3 separate regions of the Homo sapiens genome follow, and all the other regions are linked to region 1. The links are contacts of gene promoters, found by promoter capture Hi-C in blood cells and fetal thymus (Javierre and others, 2016). All regions are on one chromosome and are shown on one strand. Each heading gives the region's core, a stretch centred on a gene start or on the middle of the fragment in contact. The rest is flanking DNA. Distances are from core to core; before and after follow the strand shown. Region 1 holds the start of PEX10 (peroxisomal biogenesis factor 10). Region 2 overlaps MEGF6 (multiple EGF like domains 6). Region 3 overlaps PRDM16 (PR/SET domain 16).

The links. Contacts are between HindIII fragments. The CHiCAGO score rates a contact against its expected background, and 5 or more counts as called.
Region 2: a contact is called between a fragment that was not itself captured here and the fragment with the promoter of PEX10 in region 1, in 1 of 17 cell types (endothelial precursors). The highest score is 6.3, in endothelial precursors.
Region 3: a contact is called between a fragment that was not itself captured here and the fragment with the promoter of PEX10 in region 1, in 2 of 17 cell types (endothelial precursors and M0 macrophages). The highest score is 9.4, in endothelial precursors.

Annotation. Positions count from the first base shown.
Region 1 is chr1:2,409,424-2,414,439 of GRCh38, forward strand. PEX10 (peroxisomal biogenesis factor 10) reads right to left here and starts at 3,141. Exons shown (of 6, transcript NM_002617.4): 1 at 2,968-3,141; 2 at 948-1,028. The coding sequence starts at 3,079. RefSeq lists enhancers at 1,788-2,368, 2,369-2,949, 2,950-3,530, 3,531-4,110 and silencers at 2,727-3,106, 3,267-3,866. The HindIII fragment of the contact is 16,041 bases long and covers 1-5,016 here.
Region 2 is chr1:3,505,685-3,510,700 of GRCh38, forward strand. MEGF6 (multiple EGF like domains 6) reads right to left here. Exons shown (of 37, transcript NM_001409.4): 11 at 4,186-4,308; 12 at 3,391-3,561; 13 at 2,874-3,005; 14 at 2,111-2,239; 15 at 424-552. Among named protein-coding and RNA genes, the nearest start is that of MIR551A, 53 kb to the right of the region's middle. The HindIII fragment of the contact is 736 bases long and covers 883-1,618 here.
Region 3 is chr1:3,422,597-3,427,612 of GRCh38, forward strand. It overlaps PRDM16 (PR/SET domain 16), which reads left to right. Exons shown (of 17, transcript NM_022114.4): 13 at 2,985-3,154; 14 at 3,455-3,629. Among named protein-coding and RNA genes, the nearest start is that of ARHGEF16, 30 kb to the right of the region's middle. The HindIII fragment of the contact is 4,030 bases long and covers 780-4,809 here.

The sequences.
Region 1 (5,016 bases), core at 1,891-4,390:
AGGCCTCCGGTTCCTGAGGTCAAGCCCAAGGGGCACCCTGCATGCACCTTCCCTGTGTGTTCCACCCCCTCGCTGCCGCCCCTGCTCTGTACCACCACCATCCTGTGGGGGACTGTCACAGCCTCTGTAGTCTCCCTGAGCCCAACTTTGTCCCCTGAGGTCTGGTCTTAGCTAGTGGTCGGCCTCTCCCCTGCCCACGTCCCTGGAATGCCCCAAGCCTCGCACAGGGAAAGCTATGGGCTTACAAAACTCACGAGCCCCCCGGGGTCATTCTCCCAAACCGCCAAGGACGTGTTCTTCTCAGGGCCTTTCCCGGCTGCTTGCTCTGCCGGTCTGGAAAATGCTCTTCCCTAAGACGTGGTCTTTATCTCTGAGAGCCCCTCACTTCCCAAGATGCTCTGTGACGCAGCCACATCTGTCTCCCGCCCACCGAGCACACTCTCCATGGCGGCAGGATGCCCGGGGCGAGCCCCTCGTAGGGAACCAGGCTGGCACTCGGTGGTCCTTGCTACATGCTGAGCTGGGGTTGGGAGCCTGAGAGCTTCTGTCAACAACTCCCTCTAAAGGGTGGTGACCAGCCTGGGCCACAGACCCACCACTGCTCCACCAGGGCACTGTCACACGGGCACTGCACCCTATGACATGGCTCAGCACTGTGACTCACTGGTGCCACCAGGGCTGGCCACTGAGAAATGGGTCTCAGTGGCACCCGGGGTAAAGTCTTAAACAAAGAACCCCAGGGACACACAAAGGCTGGAAAAGTCGGCTCCCTGCTGGGAGCAGATGCCTCGCCTCCCTCGGAGCAGTACCTCCTGCACTTCCCTGAAGCAACCTCACCCGGGCCAGCTCCAGGAGCTTCTCACACTGCCTGGCAGCCCCCTGGCCACCGTCCCCAGACTTGGTGTGTGTGGCTGCCCTCAGTCCTGAGGTCCCGTGGGAGCTTCTACCTGCAAGTGTGGTGAGGCCAAAGTAGGCCACATCTGAGAGCAGCTCAACCTCCTTCCTCCACTCCAGCCACTTCCTCGCACCTGAGAGGAGAAACAGTATTAGTCCGGGGGAGCTGGTGGGCATCCTCTGAGGATGAGGGACCACAGTCCTCCCCCAGTTGTCTAGGCCCAGATCCAGTCCCACCCCTTCCATGAAGCCAACACTCACTCCCTGGCCTCCCTCTCTGCTTCTGTCTCCGGAGGCACCACCTTGACTTGCCTTAGCGTGAGCTGCAGACAGTCTGCGAAGAATCTCCCACCTGTGCTCATCTCTTGCTCCGGGATTCCCCTGAGCAACTGTTCTAGGGCCTATGAGGGCCACATGGAAAGATGGTCTGGGGTATTAAGATTACAGGCCAGAGGCCAACTGTCTAGCATCAAAAAGCAGCTCTCCAACTTGCTGGCTGTGAGGTCTTTCTGGAATCTCAATTTGCTCATCTATCAGAAGAGTAATAAGTCCTACTTGGAGGGATGTTTGAAGATTCAATATTTGTAAAACACTGGGAACAGTGTCTGGCACAGGGGTAAGTGCCAAGTGTACTGTAAAACAAGTAAGTACACACACAAAAAATTCTCATCATGTCACTCTCCTGTTCAGAATCCACCAATGGCTGCCCACCTGACACCCATGGGCCTCCCGGCACGGAGCCTGGCTGTCCTCTGATATTTACCCATGCTCTTCCTGTCCCATGGCACTGTTCCTTTGGCCACGACACCCCCACCACTGGGCTCTAGTGCCACTGCTCCCTGAAACGTTCTGCTGGGAGTTCATGCCTTTAACGACTGCCTGCCCCACCCCCCAAAGACTTGATGGCTTTGCCTTTTTTTTTTTTTTTTTTTTTTTGAGATGGAGTCTCACTCTGTTGCCCAGACTGGAGTGCAGTGGCACGATCTTGGCTTACTGCAACCTCCGCCTCCCGGGTTCAAGTGATTCTGTCTCAGCCTCCCAAGTAGCTGGGATTACACGCACGCGCCACCACGCCCTGCTGATTTTTGTATTTTTAGTAGAGACGGGGTTTCACCATGTTGTGTAGACTGGTCTCGAACTCCTGACCTCAAGTGATCCACCCGCCTCGGCCTCCCAAAGTGCTGGGATTACAGGCGTGAGCCACCACACCCGGCATCTTTTTTTTTTCGTTTTTTAATCGGTGATGGGGTCTGGCCCCGTCGCCCAGGCTGGAGTGCAGCGGCACAATCATGGCTCACTGCAGCCTCATCCCTCGGGCTCAGGCGATTCTCTTGCCTCAGCCTCCTGAAGAGCTGGGATTACAGACGCCGCCACCACGTCCGGCTAATTTTCAGATTTTTTGTAGAGACGGGGTCTTGCCATGTTGCCCAGGCTGGTTTCAAACTCCTGGGCTCAAGCGATCCTCCCGCCTCTGCCTCCCAAACTGCTGGGATGACAGGTGCTGCTTCATTGAGTACACTGGCTTCTGTACTCAGCTCCCGGCCTGGTGAGGCAGGCAGGGCCTGGCTGAGCCTACACTGGGGTCAGCAGGGCGAGGGGCCTGGGCTGCTGCTCAGGCCTAGGAAAGGCCGGGGTCAGTGTGAACCGGACCGAGGTATGAGGCGTTCGCGCCGCGGGCGCTCTGACCCCTCTGCTCACAGGGGAGGATCGGAGGGAGGCTTGAAGCACTTGCCAAGGCCTCACACCTGGAGGGGACAGAGTCTTCCCCAGCCGCTGGCGTCAGCTGGACCTGCCCTGAGCTGGGGACGGGAAGGGCTTGGGCGGGAACTGGAGGCCCACGCAGGTCCCCCGCGGTGTCTGCGGCCTGTGCCTCTGGGGCCACCTGGCCAGGGAGGGCAGGAGGTGCCCCGCACATCCCTGAATGGCCGCAGGGCAGGCGAAGGAGACTGCCGGGTCCCAGGTTGTGGGACGGGCCCAGGCGACCGTGACCACACACGGCAGACACCCCGCCTCCATGAGGGGCAACACCCCCTGGGCCGCTCGCGAGGACGTCCGGCCGCGCCCGGCCCTCACCCGCCAGGCTGTGCAGGGCGCCGCCCGCCGCGCTCCGCAGCCCACCGCGGTAGTACTCGTCCTTCTGCGCCGCGCGGATCACCTCCGGGGGGCTGGCGGCGGCCGGGGCCATGGCCGCGGGTTCGGGTGGTCCCGAGCAGCCACGCCGGCCACGCCCACGCCCAGACGGGCGAGAACTGATGACGGCACGACGTGGCTCTGCGTGCGGCGCAGACCTCTGCGTCAAGGTGCTGGGGCGGGGCCGGACTGGGGCTGGAGGCGGGGCCAGGGCCCGGGCGGAAGCGGGGCTGGAGTCCGAACCAGCGCAGCGCGGGGCGGGGCAGCGGGAAGGTAGTCGGAGGCGCAGGGCGGAGCGGAGCGGGGCGGGGCCCGCGAGCCGAGGTGGGGGCGGGGCACGCGCGAGGGGCGCTGGCGAGGCAGCGGGATGGGCTCGCGGCCGCGTGGTTGCTGCGACCTCGGGGTCCTACGCTGCCAGGGGCCCCTGCTCTGCTCCCTGCACGTCCACGGGCCGCCCTCCCACTGGGGACAGCGCTGCGGAGTGGAGACGCTGCAGGCCCATTTACGGCTGGGGAGACGGAGGCTTTCGCTTGGGTCTTCGGGAAGCCGAGCTCCCAGCGCCGGCCGCGGCGGTCCCGCCCTCGCGCCCTTTGAGCTGCGCGGGCTCTCAGCGCGGGTTGGCCAGTTCCGGGGAGCCGGTCGGTTTGGGGGCCAGAGGGGCACGAGGCGAGACCCGGGACCTTCCAGGCCCCGAGCAGCCGCCTTCCCCAGTAATCCTGCGCGAAAAGCACACGGCCGGCTTGGTGTGGACGCCCCCCTGGTGCCCACGGGAGGCAGGGCCTGGCGGGTGGGGGGCAGCCGGGAAGCCGCCGCGTGGTTCCAGGACGGGCGGAAGGTGGCCTTCCACCCTCCACCCTCCACCCTGCCTGGCCTGAGCCCCGCAGGTGCTCTGGGGAACCACATCGCAGGCGCTCCGATCCCTCTGCTCCCAGGGGACGAGCGGAGGGAGGCCTGAAGCACTTGCCAAGGCCGCACACCTGGAGGGGACAGAACCTTCCCCAGCCGCTGGCCACAGCTGGACCTGCCCTGAGCTGGGGGTGGGAAGGGCTGGGGCGGGAACTGGAGGCCCACGCAGGTCGCCTGCGGTGTCTGCGGCCTGTGCCTCTGGGGCCGCCTGGCCAGGGAGGGCAGGAGATGCCTGGTACATACCTGAATGGCTGCAGGGCAGGTGAAGGAGAAGGCCCTGTTTTTTGGCCCCAAGGGCAGCACTTGGCCCTGGAGAGTCCTGCAGGATTGCAGGAGGAAGGCAGGGCACGACAAGGGGGCGTCTGCGCCCCGCTGACCTCAGTGGGGAGGGCCTCCAGTTCCTTGCCTCACCTCTGGTTCCATCTACAGGAGCTCAGCTGTGGGATCATCCCCAGACTGGCACAGCCCAGTCACAAAGCCAGAGCCCCACACTGCAGGAATGGCCCCTCTTACAGGGAAGGGGCATGGCCTGGGTGGCCCCGCCCCGCAGGCCCTCTGGCTACCAAACCTCCCAGCGCCCCCGCGCCCCTTTGGAGTTCTGACCCCGCGGGTGCACCCGTGTCTCCTGGACACAGAGGCTGCCCTCTGATTGGGTTGAGCACCTTGGGCTGAACCCCTCATCCGTGGACCAGGCAACCCGGCATCGCCCACGTGGAGCCGCTGAGGTGATCATGTGTTCTGGTCAATGCTTAGATAACAGTTTGAGATGCCGCTCTGGCCCCTGGGTTCATGGCTCCACGTCTGATTCTGAGGAGGAGGCTTCGGCTCCTTTGGATTCACACTGGGTTCTATGATGGGCCCCTGACGGGAGGGCCTGCTCTAGGAGGCATCCCCCACCGCTGTCCTGGCTCAGGACTGCTTTCCCCACTCTTCTCATCTGCACCCTGGGCGACAAATCCCAGCCTCACAGTGGGAGGGGCCTGGGCAGGACCTGAAACAAAGTGTCCCAGTGTCTGCTGTTCCTGGGCAGGTGGGGCTTGGGGGTCCCCCACGGTTCAAGCCTTGGCTCTAGGCCTTGGCTGGGCC
Region 2 (5,016 bases), core at 1-2,500, 1.1 Mb after region 1:
CCCCTGCAGCCCACCGCCCCTTCCCTGAGTGTCTGAACCCCAGGGATGGGTGACCCCACCAGGGACTCAGAGCTTGGCCTTGCTGCCAGGAATCTCCAAAAGCCAAGATAGGCCTCATCCCCCGGAGGCTTCTGCAAAAGGCCTGGCCCTGCCCTCATCTGCAGCCCTACCACCCATCAAGGCTGGGAGGCACAAGGTTGGGGACCATCCACCCAGACGCCCTGGATGCCAGCACAGTCACAGTCGAGAGGATGTGGCTTGGAGTCCACAGACTCATGGCGGACCCCAGACCTACATCCCAGTGGGTGACCTGGCTGGGCCCCGATAGCCTCATCCTAACCCAGACTACAGGTAACAGGACATGGACCATCCCTTCCACCCGCTGCCACCACCATGGACACTGGAAGGGGCAGTGAGACTCACTGAGGTGGCAGAAGCGGCCGTAGAGCCCTGGGTCGCAGAGGCAGGCCCCGTAGAGGCGGTGGCACCGGCCCCGGTTGGCACAGTTGCATTTCTTGCGACAGTGCTTGCCATAGTAGCCCTTGGGGCAGCCTGGGGGCAGCGGGGCTCCATGTGAACCTTGGTGGCAGCCAGCCTACCACATGTGGTCCCCCCATGTGGTAGGATGCGCGGGGGCCCAGGGCCCAGCACAGGAGCTGGGAGCAGCCCCCGCCAGGGCACTAGGTGAGCCTTCCGGATGTGGCCGTCTGCCCTGGCTGGTCTGTCCCCTACATCCCCTGCCCCCAGGGTTTGTGGCAAGGGCGGGTGGAAGAGCACATTCCTCGGCCCACACTGGAGAGATGCACAAAGCTCACGCCCCACTCTCCCCAAAGTCTGGCCCCCATCAGGAGCCGCCTGACTTCTGTCCCCTGGTGGTCACTAAGCTTGATCTCAGAGCCTCAAAGCGGGAAGGACACGTGGCCCCAGTAGACAAGGTCCCAGGCCCAAGCCGCAGGTGGCCCCAGAGCTAGAAAGGTCCTCGCCTTTCTTCCCCAAACAATTCTCTCTGGCTGGGTCCTGCCCCACGTCCTTCCTCCTACTGAAGGCGGTAGTCAGCTGAAGGTACCCCCACAACTACATACACGTCCTAGTCCCCAGGACCTGGAGACTAGGCACAGTTGCATTTCTTGCAACAGTGCTTGCCATAGTAGCCCTACATTATCCAGGCTGGCCCTGAATCCAAAGACAAACATCCTCATCTGAGAGGCAGGCGGAAGCCGAGACAGAAAGAGGAGGCCTGGAGAAGGGGAGGTGACCCCTCAACGCTGCAGGCAGCCTGGAGGGTACAGCACGATCCCAGGGGTGCAGCACCCAGGAATGAATACGGGGGTTCCCCAGCACCCTGTAGAATAGAAAGGGCAGACAAAGTGGGGAAGGGAGGCACACTGACAGGGAAGAGGTAGGAAGCCCTGTGTGGCTGCCTGGGGTCCCCACCACCACCAGGCAACCAGCCCTGCAGAGCCCAGCACATACGGCCAGGAAAGCTCACGGGGCCACCTGGGGGACAGGTTCTAGGGTTGGCTGTCTTCCTCTCACAAAGGCAGAAAGTTTATGATACGTTAGCTGCACTCTCCATCGAAAGAGGCAGAAATGATGAAGTCTGAAGACTTAAAGATGAAGCTTTAGCCACCTGGGAAACATTTTCTGGACTAATTCCTCCAGAAAGGCTGAAACTTCAGAGTTAATAAGGGAGCCAACATCATCCCTTGCAGCCACTGGCCCCCAAGTAATCCCTTCTGCAAACCTCACCCAGCCATCACCAGCTCTACTTGAATGCTTCCAGGAACAGGGACCTCACTGCCTCTCAAGGGAACCCATTCCAAAAGTGCTGCTCTGTAGTCTTATCGTCTGCTACAGTTAGGCCCTGGGAAAATTAGCAACAGTGAAAAAGCAATACCCCTCTCATTCAAGGGCCTCATTCTCTCTCAAGCACAGCCTAAAGCTCTGGAGACAGGGAGGCAGGAAGGAAAGGGAGTCTAGGAAAAGTTTGGTAGCAGTTTCCCTGCTCCAGTGGGAGGAAGGAGACAAGGAGGACGTGGAGGGGTGGTGTCTCCCACTTCCCTTACAGCCCAGGGGTAATTCCAGAAGCACCAGAAGAGGCTGCACGCACCATCCTCACAGTTAGTTCCACTGACACCCGGGGGGCAGCGGCAGGCCCCCGTGACAGAGTCGCAGGTCCCACCATTCTGACAGCTGCAGGAGAAGCTGCAGTTCTTCCCAAAGGTGTCCGGAGGACAAGCTACAAAGAATGACAGGGAAGCGTCAGGGTCACCAGCCAGCACGACACTCTGAGACCCCTTCCTAGGGTTGGAGGCTTGGGTTTAGAAGCAGTTGCCTAGAGATAAAATGATGGCACTTGTACCACATCACCCCTGCCCATGCTCATGGCAGACATCACTAATTGATCACTGACTCCTCTCTCTGAACACCAGCAGAGAGAGGAGTCTCCTCCTTCTGAACCAGCTCTTTCAAACAGGCAGAGCCTCACTGACAGTTATGACGGGTCCCTGGCCATCTGAGCTAGAGGAACCCCACCTGCCGGCTGCCCTTCAGCAGACACCCCTCACTGTCTTAGTTATTTGCTGGCTTGCTTGTTGCTGGACCGTGAAGACTGATATTTAGGAAGGACAAACACTTTAACTTGCTTGTTCCCAGGGAATCCTTACTGCCTGGAACAGTGCGTGGCATAGAGTGGACAGTCAGGGGATGTTTATCAAAGGAATTAACAAATGGATGAATGAATGGCTCTGCACAGAGCCCCCTGCCCAGGGCCAGCAGGCAGGAGTAAAACTGAATGGGCTCAAAGGGCTGTCCCCAGGTCTTGGGGCTCAGAGGCCCCTTCCCAGCCCCCAGCCCCTGCCCAGCTGCCTCACTCTCATTGCAGATGAGCCCAGTCCAGCCCTCGGGGCAATCACAGCCATCCAGGCCCAGGAGGCAGGTCCCTCCGTTCCTGCAGTCATCACAGGTCAAGCTGCAGTCATGGCCAAAGGAGTCATCCAGGCAGACTGGGGGCAGACCAGGATGGGGGGATTCAGAGCCTGACCCCTGGCCTCAGCAGGCACAGAGGCCCGGCTCAGACCCTCAGGCCAGGGAAGGGGCATAAGGGGCATCCTCGGCCCATGAGGGCCCCCAAAGGGTGACATGGGGACAGATGCTGGGGCCAGAAGGAGCCCTAACCTGGAAGCTGTGAGCCCGGTCCCGCCCGGCTCAGCCCGCACGAGCTGCGCAAACTGAGCCAGTGGCTCACCCTCTCTGGGCCTTGGTCTAACATGGCATTGCAGGGGTCCTTCCTCACGTCCCCAGCCTCTGATTGGATGGCAGCCTAGCCCGAGGGGTCGCTGGCTGCTGGCCCTGCGAGCAGGAGCCCCCGGGGGCTGGGCCCGCGCTCACCAAACTTCTCTGTGAGCGTGTGTTCGCCCCGCAACTCTGCCTCTTCCTCATCGGCCCCGACGTCGTCATCCTGGAAGAGTTGCGGCAGCTCGTCCTGGAGCACGGCAATGTGGGGCAGGGGCCGCACGAAAGGCAGCTCGCCGTCCAGGTCCACCATCGGCTCCTCCAGGGCTGCCAGGGGCACAGAGGCGCCTTAGCCCCTGCCACCCACCTGCCTGCTCCAGCGACCCCCCGGCGGGTAGGGCTGGGCCTAAGCCCCACCCCAGGGAACCCCACCACCCTCCTACTGCCTCCACTACCCCCACCTCCTCAGCCTGGTCCCAGGGGTCATCCCAGCTGCACCCGACCCTCCTTCTCAGGAAAGAGAAGGCTCTGGGCCCTGAGGACCTGAACCCGGCCCCTCTGCCCCCAGCCTCATCCCAACTCTAGGGACTCTGGGGCCTAGAGGGGTAGGGGTGGGAGCAGCTGCCATCAGTCCCAGGGACAACATCACCTTAGGTCTTGGTCCCTTCTCTCACGTGGTCAGGACAGGTGCTGGGCTCCGGGAGGATGCCTGTCTCACCAGCTTCCCCCACCCCACTGTCCCCAACCCCCACACGGCCCTCAGAAGAGGCAGGACCTCAGTGGGTCCCCAAGGGCCCAAGAGCCTCTGAGGTGTGTTGGCCCAGAGAGGCCAGGGGGCAAAGGACCCCAGGCAGGTGGGGGTGGGGTGGGCCAGGCCTGCGGGACGCAGGGTCAGCTGGGGCAAACTCGAGAAGGCAGAGGCCGGTGCTCCGCGGAGGGCGGGAGACTCACGGCTGCAGCCCCTACGGTCCTCGTGCAGCCGGTAGCCGGCCTCGCAGGAGCACTGGAAGGAGCCGGCCAGGTTGGTGCAGTGGTGCTCGCAGCCGCCACGGCTGGAGGCGCACTCATCCACATCTGCGGGCGACCCGGGACCACTGAGGCCTGTGCTCCCAGGTGGGGAACCAGGAAGGCCCCTGCCCACCCAGTCCTACCCACAGGACTGAAGCCCTGGTGGCCCTGCCAGAGCTGAGTAGCATCTCTTCAACCAGCCAGTAAAACTCACCCTCAGCCACAGAGGCCACTCTGGCCATCCTCCCAGCCCAGGGTCAGAGCCATGGCAGACACGTGCTAGGGGGGGCCAGGCTGGGAGGGGCCGGCCAGGCAGCAGCCAGGGGGACAGGCCCAGCTCCAGGAGAGAGCGGCCAGTGACCTCAGGCCAGAGGGAGGGAGGGGACAGGTCAGCACAGCCCTCCAGGCAGCAGGCACTCAACCAACACCCACAGCCCTGCACGCAGCAGGCGCTCAACCAACGCCCACAGCCCTGAACTCAGCAGGGGCTCAACCAACACCCATAGCCCTGCACGCAGCAGGCGCTCAACCAACACCCACAGCCCTGCACGCAGCAGGCGCTCAACCAACGCCCACAGCCCTGCACGCAGCAGGTGCTCAACCAACGCCCACAGCCCTGAACTCAGCAGGGGCTCAACCAACACCCACAGCCCTGCACGCAGCAGGCGCTCAACCAACACCCACCACAGCCCTGCACACAGCAGGCGCTCAACCAACACCCACAGCCCCAAAGCAAAGCACAGAGCAGGCCGACCCCATGCCCACCATGGGGGT
Region 3 (5,016 bases), core at 1,545-4,044, 1.0 Mb after region 1:
AGTCTAAGGATGTGTCAGGGTGGGGGATGTGAGAAAATGCATTGGAGGGTGTAAAATCCCTCCTTTCTGGGAGATTGTGTGGGACACGTCGGGTAGGGGGGCACCCAAGCATCTCCAACCCTGCTGCCGAAAGGGCTCCATCCTCGGCCTTATTCTTGTGTGAGTTCACAGGCCGAGTCAAACAAAACTGCAGCGCCGCCCAGGGCAGGCTTTGTGGATGGCCAGTCCAAGCCAGGGCGCTGCCTGTCACTGGGCTGTGGGAGGAGACGCTGGGACCCGGGTGCCCGGAGGCAGCTCAGCTGACCCGGGCAGGAGCAGGGGCTCCCAGAGAAGAAGCCCACAGGCCAGGCCCCTGGGATCAGGAGCAGAGAAGGCTGAGGGTCACTTCGGGGAGCTCAGGGACTTCGATCACCAATGCTTCTTTTCCTGTCTACTGTTGAAGAGGCCAGAGTGAGCCTGGCCTCCGGCAAAGGTTGGAAGGTTCAGGAATTGAGTGGATGAAGCCTTAGGGCAGCACCAGGGAAGTTTGCTGGGACGAAGTGGGATGGGGATATGCCTCGGCCAGGCGTGGGAGAGGAGTGCCCTTCTCCCAGGACTGCCTCCCGTTCTCTAGGGGACCCATTTTCAGACTTGCTAGGTTTTACCAGGCAGCCTGGGGAGTTGGGGGAGACTCGCAGGCTCTGAGATTCCAAGGACAGTTTCTCACGGCCGCAGCCCCTGCACGTGGGGAATGCTGAGCTCCTGGGCCCGGCAGCAGCACCCGGAAGGTGTGGGACTGAAGCTTCCTGCCTTGGGGAGGCCCCTGCGGGTGTGTTGATGGCAGGTCAGACTCCCTCGCCAGGCTTTTGTGATAGCAAACACCAGCCCAGGCCCCTCCTGTACAGGGCAGCACCGTGCCGAGAAGGCCGAGCCACACAGCCCCTCCCGGTCTGGGAGGCCAGGACTCCCGAGTGTCACCAGGCACGTCCCCATCCATGTGACAAGGGCATGTGACCAGTATGCTGCTCTGGAGCGGGCCACCGGCACCGGTCGGGGCGGGGTGGGGCCTCTCGGAGTCCTGTCCTCTGTGGGAACGAAGGCCACTGTGCTTAGAACAGCCACACCCACTCCGGGTGAACAAACCCTGCCCCATCCTGGTGCCTCCACAGAGGCTCCCACAGAGGCCCTGGCCTGGTCTCCAGCTGCTACCAGGCCCCCCCGGCCAGGATCCTGCTGCAGTGGGTAGACTTTCTGTGTGCTGTGCCATGGGCATCATGGAGCTTGCTTTGTTTTCAAAATATGAAAACGCATGATCATATAAACAGAATGTTCAAGTGCGTGTGTGCCTGTGGGATCAGATGAGCACCGCTGCGGGCGTTCTGATGACCAAGAGCACACACAAGTGTGCACACACAGGCATGGCACACACGCACATGCCAAGCACCCACGTGCAACTGAAAACCATGCAGTCAGGGTTCCCTTCACCGTCGCCCAGCCCAGCCGGGTGCCTCTCAGTAAGCCAGTCCCAGCCCCCCGCCGGATGCCCCCCAGGGAGGAGGCTGTCTTCACAGAGGCAGCGCACGTGCATCTACAGAGCTCATGGGGTTCCTCCTTAGCTCATCCCCAGCTCCCCCTCTTCGTTTCAGGCATGATTTTCTTGCTGCTCAATGCACATGTCGCTCAGGCCCCCTAGTTCTCAGCCCCGCTCTCTAAAAATGGGAGAGAACAACCCTCCCTTTCCCTGCCTGCAGGGTCACCACGTGTGGCTGTGAAGGTCACTCCCAGCCCAAGGGCCCCACACTGAGGGGAACCCTCCACACGCAGCCCTCCTCGATCGCTCATTATGACGACTTTCCAGCCGCAAGGGGCCTTGCTCTGATAAACTCAGGGTGTTAGAGTCCTGCTCTGCCTGATGCCGTGGAGGCCAGATGGAGGAAGGGGGTCTCATCCCAACTTCCCCACGTGCACGGTGCAGGCCGGCAGCAGCCCTGCCCACCCTGGGGGAATAAAGATAAACCGAGCCCGGGAGCTGGCAGTGCCCAAAGGGGCCAGTGTGGTCTTTGTGTCCTTAATAGAGGAGGCAGCCAACAAGTGGCAACATCCAGGGCAGCCCCCAAGCCCTCCATGAATGGACTGGCAAACTGAGGCTCCAAGTGAGGTGGGGCCTGCCCAGGGGCCCCCAGCCACCTCGAGGGGTGGAGGAGGAAGGTCACAGGGAGCTGGTCTGGGAGCTGGTCTGTGGAGCCCCTCCGGCTGGGAAACTGGCCTTGCCGAGTGTCTTTCCATGGAGCAAGGCCGCCCTCTGGAGGCTGCAAGGAGCATGTCGCCCTCCGGCTGCAGACCTGCCGGCCCCGCGGCCTGGGGGCCAGGGAGACCCAGACAACAGAGGGCAGGAGACGCCGGAGGGTCGGGCGCACCGCCTGCCCAGGGGACACGGGGCACACTCCAGGGGGATCCACCAGCCAGCCACAGAACAGTAGGAGGGTGAACGCCTGCTTGCTTTTTTTTTTTTTTTTTTTTGAGATGGAGTCTCGCTCTGTCGCCCAGGCTGGAGTGCGGTGGCGTGATCTTGGCTCACTGCAAGCTCCGCCTCCCGGGTTCACGCCATTCTCCTGCCTCAGCCTCCAGAGTAGCTGGGACTACAGGCGCCCACCACCACGACTGGCTGATTTTTTTGTATTTTTAGTAGAGACGGGGTTTCACCATGTCAGCCAGGATGGTCTCGATCTCCTGACCTCGTGATCCACCCGCCTTGGCCTCCCAAAGTGCTGTGATTATAGGCGTGAACCCCTGCTTCTTGAAGCCGGGGCTGTTTCTAGGGACAGCTTCCCCAGGATGCCTTTGGCTCTGCAGCTGGGAGATCCAGCAACCTCCGGGACACGGCGGGGCAAAGCTGTGCACGGGGCACGGGGCAGGGGCGCGGGCTCCCTTCCCCCCACCCTCTGTGGCCCGGCCTGCCATGCAGAGCCGGGGCCTGCACTGAGGAGCGCGTGTGCCCCTTCCAGGTGTAAGTACTGCGACCGCTCCTTCAGCATCTCTTCGAACCTCCAGCGGCACGTCCGGAACATCCACAACAAGGAGAAGCCTTTCAAGTGCCACCTGTGCAACCGCTGCTTCGGGCAGCAGACCAACCTGGACCGGCACCTCAAGAAGCACGAGCACGAGAACGCACCAGGTGGGCCACGCGGGGTGGGGCAGCCCCCAGAGCACCCACACGGGCAGGCCCCACAGAGGGGGAGGGGGAACAGCAGGGGAGTGGGCGCCGGGCAGGGAAGAGGGCCACAGACTACCCCTCAGGAAGCCAACAGGCACCCCTCAAACCGTGGTCATTAAAGAGAACCTCGTGCTCTCCGGTGTCCCTAAGAAACCTGCCTCCCTAACAGCACCCCAGGTGTACCCCGTTCGCGGTTGGTTTGCCCCACGGAGGGAGGGGTCCAGCGAGAGGCCGCCCCCTGATGCTCCCGCCCCTCCGCAGTGAGCCAGCACCCCGGGGTCCTCACGAACCACCTGGGGACCAGCGCGTCCTCTCCCACCTCAGAGTCGGACAACCACGCACTTTTAGACGAGAAAGAAGACTCTTATTTCTCGGAAATCAGAAACTTTATTGCCAATAGTGAGATGAACCAAGCATCAACGCGAACAGAGAAACGGTAAGAAAACTATCGCGGGCTGGGGAAAGTCTGGACCCGGCCAACAGCCCTGCGTGGCCACCCTCAGAGGACATGCACCTCCACCCCAGCACCAGCCCCTAACACATCCAGATAGGCGCAGTGGGGGCCTCACCACAGAGGGTGAGGCCCCTGGGCTCTGGGAACCTGGGGAAGCTGCGCTGTCTGCCTCAGTTCCTCCACCTGGAGAGTCATGAGAGTAAGCACCCCTGGGCTTATGACCTCACTGTTAACATATGTGTGTGCAAAACACTAGCCAGGTGACCGAGCCGGGCACAAGTTCAGCTGTGCCGCTGACACTCAAGGACATTTTGATTTAATCTGAGGCACTAAAGATTTCCAAACCAAAATGCTGCACCTTTATACACACATGTACACACATACACATGTGTACACATGCACGCACACACATGCACACATAGGTATGCCCCGTGTACATGTACACATTCACATGCACATATGCACACAGAGATGCACGTTTGTATACATGTGTATACATATGCCATTGATGAATCCTCACTTGTTCCTCACCTGGCCTTGCTCTGGGAGCTGCAGTTTAGGGGATCGTGCCTGGGGACAGGGCAGGACGTGCCTGGGGACAGGGCTGTGGTCTGGGCATGGGCAGTCCAGGAACTGTGTGCTCTGCCCTTTGCGTGCAGGTCCCCAAATACGGGCATGCACGTGCACTCATGCACACACGTGTACATAACATGTGCGTGCATAAACATGCCTGCCTAGATCTACACACACGCATATGCACACATGCAAGTACATGCACATGGACAGTGTGTGCACATACACATGCGTGACGGACAGCCGTGTGCGTACACCTAGAGACACATGTACACGCATGGGCGCACGTGCGTCTAGACACACAGCAGCAGAACGATGGTGGAATTCGGATCCAGGAATGTCGGCGCATGCTCTGTGCAACCTGGGATACCAGGGCTCCGTAGGCCTCACTTACTCTGGGGGAGCCTTCAGACACCCCAGCGGGGCTGCTTCCTTTGTGAAAGCTAACACCAGCCAGCTGGCAGAGAACCGAAGGTGTTCCAAACTCCAAGAGGCCTGAGGGGGTGATCCCCTGATTCTACAGAAGGGAAAACGGGGCCCACAGAAGTGGGGTGTCTTGCTCAGGCCCAGAACCTAGAGCCAGATCCCAAGCTTTTACCGCACTGGCCATGGGCGGTCTAAGGCTCTGTACCCACAGGGCCCAGCTCACTCCCCACCACCTCCAGTAGGTGAAGAAGAAGCCCCCTGAGACCCCAGCTCCCTCAGAGCCCATCCCCTCCTCCAGGGCAGGGCTGCGTCTTCCTGTCATTGCTTCTAGGAGAGTGGGGGTACCTGGGAAAGAGGCATCCAAGCAATA